2 separate regions of the Homo sapiens genome follow, and region 1 is linked to region 2. The links are contacts of gene promoters, found by promoter capture Hi-C in human tissues and cell types (Jung and others, 2019). All regions are on one chromosome and are shown on one strand. Each heading gives the region's core, a stretch centred on a gene start or on the middle of the fragment in contact. The rest is flanking DNA. Distances are from core to core; before and after follow the strand shown.

Region 1 (2,700 bases), core at 45-2,544, 1.0 Mb after region 2:
GGCCTATTTGCTAGAAGATTTCCACTGGTTTGGGGCAGCTTGCAGGGCCATTGTCCTTTTGTGTTTCTGGCTGATGGGATGGAAAGGGACAGAAAACCAACCTCGGTTCATGCGGTGTTGGTACTGCCTGGAAATATGTATTGTTAGTGCCCTCTAGCGGCCGAGTCTTGGCTGGACATTAAAAGACATTTTTCACCATGAGCTGGGTGTTGAGTGCTTTTAAAAAGCAATTTTGCAACTTGGCTGTGGCCACTGTGCTCTGCTTGGAGTGGCTTTAGACTTCATGATGCTGGTGCTTTCATGTTAAACTGTTTCAAAGCCTCTTGTGGAAGCAAGAGCGTTTGAACTAAACTACAATTTTTGAAAATGGCAACTTGAAATATTTTTACCTCCAACGTAGACCATTCTTTGCCTGCATGCTTCCCTCTGGATTGTCTGTTCCCAAAAACAGCATCTTCATTCAATGAGTAAATGTTTTCTATTACTCAAATTTATTTGGCAAAATAGACTCGGGTAATAGAACATTTTTTTCTTCTTCATACTAATTGTGTGCCTTGCGAAGGCTCTAAAATCATTCCATTTTGACCTAGAAATTCATTTTCTAGGAGTTTTTCCTAAGGAATCACTATGAATATGAACAAGATTGAGGAACAAGCTACTTCTTAGAAGGTTATTCGTAATAAAGAAGAAAACAACCACCTAACGGGCCAACAATACAGACATTGATAAATTATAGTTCATCCAACTCATGGAGTAGGAGGTAGTAATTAAAAACAACATATTATGATTAGAACCGGAAATACCATTTGACCCAGCAATCCCATTACTGGGTATATATCCAAAGGAATATAAATCATTCTCTTATAAATACACATGCACACCCATGTTCATTGCAGCACTATTCACGATAGCAAAGACATAGAAACACCCCAAATGGCCATCAATCAATGACAGACTGAAGAAAGAAATGTGGTACATATATACCACGGAATACTATACAGCCAGAAAAAGGAATGAGAACATGTCCTTTGCAGGGACATAGATGAAGCTGAAAGCCATTATCCTCAGCAAACTAACGCAGGAACAGAAAATCAAACGCCACGTTCTCACTTATAAGTGGGAGCTGAACAATGAGAACACATGGACACAGGGAAGGGAACAATACATGCTGGGGACTGTCGGGGGAGGATGGGGTGGGGTGAGAGCATTAGGAAAAAGAGCTAATGCATGCTGGGCTTAACACCTAAGTGATGGGTTGATAGGTGCAGCAAACCACCATGGCGAACGTTTGCCTATGTAACAAACCCACACATCCTGAACATGTACCCCGGAACTTAAAAAATAAAATTAGATAAATAAATAAATAAAACGTACTATGGTTTAAGAAGATCCTTTTCAAACAGCTGGGGACACTGGTCACTCAAGTGACTTTCCCGGTGTCTCACACAAATCCTCAGTGGTGGTTATGTGGGTGTTGATTTTGCAGTAGGTCATTGAGCTACACATTTTCTGAATATATGTATTTATAATTTTTAAAGAATATTTTTTATAGTTTAAAAGAAGATTTAAAAAAAAAATCAAAGAGACCAGGTATTCTAATCCTTAATTTAGCTCTGTTTCCCACACTAGTCTACTCCTTGGAGGAACGAAGGCACAAAAGAGAAAAGATGGAATTATGGTCTCTGGGAACTAGATTTTAAAATTGCATTTAAGAAATACCTAATGTAGACGACGGGTTGATGGGTGCGACAAACCACCATGGCACGTGTATACCTATGTAACAAACCTGCACGTTCTGCACATGTATCCCAGAACTTAAAGTATAATTTTAAAAAATTGCATATAGAACATCCCATTGGTGGGACTGGATTTGTTTGCAAATGGTCTTGTCAGTGGTGAAGTGGAAGAGAATGTGGAGCCCCACTCAAATGAAGTTTGCAACTTGTCAGCAGATCTGGAAAAACAATACAGTTAAAATTCTTGACTCTCTGGAGATAGGAAATTATTAATAAATTTCACGAATGCATATTTCCTTATTGCCATTACAGTTGTGAGGGATGGCTGTATCTTTTGCTGTTATTTTTAAACCCCATAGAATATTTGTAGAAAAACAATTTATCTAAATGTATGAGGTAGTTTATAACTTCTCTACATTTCCATGTCAGAAGCAAAGAGATAAATAGTTAATTCTGAGTTACGTTTAATAAGTATTCATTTGTATCTCTTCACCAGAGACGAGAGAAAAGCAGCTTAGTCCCAGACCTCAAGGTACCCCCGAATGGCTGGGAGGAAGTTTGACATCCTTGAAAAAAAATAGAGAGCAACATAAGGCAAGTGAATGCGGTGTACAGTATAAGCATTATAATGCTCTAAGGAATAAAATCAAGTGTCAAGATGCATAGTTTATAGTAAGGAGATATTGCGTCAGGCTAATTCGGATATAAATCTGTATGAACATGTGATCTTAAATCTCTATGGCTCCACTTTATCTACAAAATGAGAATAATATTGCTACTTACTATTGTAAAGATTGAATGCACATTGTGCTTCCATGTTTATTGCAGCACTATTCACGACCACCAAAATTTGAAGCAACTTAAGCATCTGCTAACAAACGAATGGATAAAGAAAATGTGGTACACATACATGATGGAGTACTATTCAGCCACAAAAAAGAATGAGATCCTGTCATTTGCACCA
Region 2 (2,700 bases), core at 178-2,677:
GTGTAAAGGAGCGGCTGACATTTTCTCCCATTCAAATTCTCAGTGCGGAGTCGCTGGGGCCGGCAGGCTGCCTTTCTCTGTGGCGTGATTCACGCCCCCATTCCTCAGCGCGGGGAATTCCTGTTCACAAAGCCGGCTCTGGGTGCCCAGAGGAAACAGGTAGGGCTCAGCTGCCCCAAACTCCAGTGGCTTCCAGGCTGGGGAAACTGAGGCCCAGAGAGGTGATCTGCCCTGGCCAGCCACAGGGCCCACAGGGGTAGGGGGGCTGGGGAGGTGCCACAGCCCAGTCTAGACCCCAGAGGTCCTGATTCTCAGCCTCGATTTCGTTTCTACTTTTCAACATGGGAGGAAATGTTTAAGGGGTTGGGAGGTGGGTGGGGGAGGTTCTCTCCTCCCATCACCAGGGGAGACCTTCCTCGCTGGGCCCCCTCTGGAGCTGAGAAGTTTCTGTTTGGGATTGCGGCCGATGGGCTCACACATTCTGCCTGGAGCGAGAAGCCTTCAGGCGTCTCTAACTCATGCAAAAATCCTTCCTCTCTCTCGGGACGGGGCTTGAAGCTTCTGTCTTGGGGTTGCAGCTGCTTGGAAGGGGCGGAGAGGAGTGGATAGCAAGTTTGTCAGGGCTTCCTCCCTCTGCCCCGCCAGCGCTCTGAGCCGGCCTCGAGCCAACGTGAGGCAGCGAAGCAGCGTCCTTCTTCCTCCGCCTGGGCTCGGGACCTTTCCTGGACCAAGGACAGGAGGAGAGCAAAGTGCTGCCCGCTCCCCATCTAAGCTTGTGATCCGGGGAGGCTGGGATGGGGATGGGGGTATCCCCTTCCCCAGCGCCCCAGTGGAGCGCGCGCAGGGTGGGCGCGCAGGCAGCAGAGCGGCGCGGCCTCTTACCTGAAAAAGTCATTTTTGCAGTAGAGCTTGCCCTCGCGCGAGAAGCACTTCTCCGAGAGGTTGGTTTTGCACTCGCAGCACTGAACACATTTGATGTGCCACGCGCGGTCCAGCACGTTCAGCAGAAAGCGGTCGAGGATGGGCCGCTCGCAACCGGCGCAGTGCACCATCATAGCCCCGCGCCCCGGCGGCTTCGGCCGCCTTGCCCTCCCTTTGGGCCCCTGGCCCTCGGGCCTGCCGGGCCCTCCGCTGCCCTTCGCCTCTTGTCTCAGCAGCTGCAGGGCGAGTCTGGTCCGGACCAAGACTCAGCCGGTCCAGTCCTTGGGCAATCTCTGGCCTGGCGCTGGGCTGCCCGGAGTGGGGTGGTGGGGGGCGGGTGGCGTTCACAACCTCATGCCACGGGCCGCACGCCCCGGCGCCTGTTCCGGGCTTCCCCAGGTATCTCGGGTGGCTGCTGGCCTCGGCGCTGCGGAGCGGCTTTCCCCGGTGGCGGAGGCGCCGGCACTTTCCCCCACTTTCAAGCGGTCCGGATCCTCATCTTTGTCTGGTCGCCGCGTAATTCGCGCATCCTTATTCAGATTTGGTGACGTGGCGCTGCACGTAGGGGGCCCAGCGGCCAATGGGCGCACCGTGGCCATGGCAACCTCTTAAATTTATAGCATATCTAAATTGGCTACAGCGTTGCTGTCCGGACAGAGCAAAAAAAACAAGGCATCAGTATTGTTGAGTATTAGCTTGTACCTGGTTCGGAGGCTAAGTAAGTATTTACCTTCCAGTTTGGGGCTGACGGGGCGGGGGCAGCGCGAAACGAAAATTGCGTCTCTCTTCCTCTCTCTTTCTCCTCACAAATATTTGGGGGTCACGGGTTCCAAGGCCTAGTCCGGGAGGTACCCCTGCCCCCTTCGCCATCCCTGGAACTTGCAGAAGTTGCCCCACGCCCCACACTTCGCTCCCCTTCTCCAGCCCAGCCAGCCCAGATTGGATTCCCCCACCCCCGCGCCCCCTCTGCGCCCTGAAGCTGCGTCAGCGCGGTTCTCCCGGCTCCTGGAGCCGGCCCCGGCTTCTTTTTGTCATACACGGGGCTGGGGCCCAGCCGGGCCTTTCTCATGGAGAGAGCTAGTGGAGACCGCGCGGCCTGGGTAGTTTTCCCCGCCCGGCCGCCGAGCCCAGGCCCAGGCCCAGGGTGGGGAGGCGGGGGAGCAGGAGGGGTGCCATTTGGCCTGGTCCCGAACTCCAGAGTTTCAGGCCTGAGTGCGCTGCTCACGGGGCTCTGAGGGAGATGTGGACAGGGGGAGATTCAGGGTGGACGGGTCTTCCCGCAGACAGCTCGGAGGTGGCACTCACCACGTCTCTCCTTTCCTCGCTGCACCTTCCAGATTCCAGGTCAGCCTATGGGGCACTGTGGTGAGTGGGTCGTACGGCTGAGGCGGGGGACACCAGCGACTATGAGAGCGCTGTTTGTATTCACGCCGTGCGGGCTGGGTGTGCAAGTTCGTCCCCTCATTGGGCGCAGGAGAAGCGGCGCACGTATGTTCCGTGCTCGGCAGGGCGCCCAGAGTGTGAGGAGAGAGAGTGTGTGTGTGTTAAGGGGGAGGGGGGATGTTGGCAGGTGTGCGTGAGGAGGGGGTGTGTGGGTCTGAGTAGGAGAAGGGACCAGGCCTCCTTTCCCCTGGGGCCAGCGTGGCCACCAGGGATCCTAGTTGGGGAAGCCGGGAATGGGCAACCAGGATTTGCCTTTCGCTTCTGGAAAGGGGGCTGAGGGAGTAGGGCCTGGGACCAAGGGCTGGAGCTGGAGGGGTTTGTGCCAGCACTTGGCTG

Evidence for each region. The method cuts DNA at HindIII sites, captures the fragments that hold promoters and counts their contacts. A contact is called where the count stands out against the background at its distance.
Region 1: a contact is called between a fragment that was not itself captured here and the fragment with the promoter of LHX5 in region 2, in 1 of the 25 tissues and cell types used here (dorsolateral prefrontal cortex).

The regions. Positions count from the first base shown.
Region 1 is chr12:114,508,566-114,511,265 of GRCh38, forward strand. No RefSeq gene overlaps it. Among named protein-coding and RNA genes, the nearest start is that of TBX5-AS1, 100 kb to the left of the region's middle. The HindIII fragment of the contact is 9,535 bases long and covers 1-2,700 here.
Region 2 is chr12:113,470,444-113,473,143 of GRCh38, forward strand. It overlaps LHX5 (LIM homeobox 5), which reads right to left and starts at 1,428. Exons shown (of 5, transcript NM_022363.3): 1 at 883-1,428. The coding sequence starts at 1,055. LHX5-AS1 (LHX5 antisense RNA 1) reads left to right here and starts at 1,560. Exons shown (of 2, transcript NR_126425.1): 1 at 1,560-1,639. RefSeq lists an enhancer at 510-1,310. The HindIII fragment of the contact is 9,096 bases long and covers 1-2,700 here.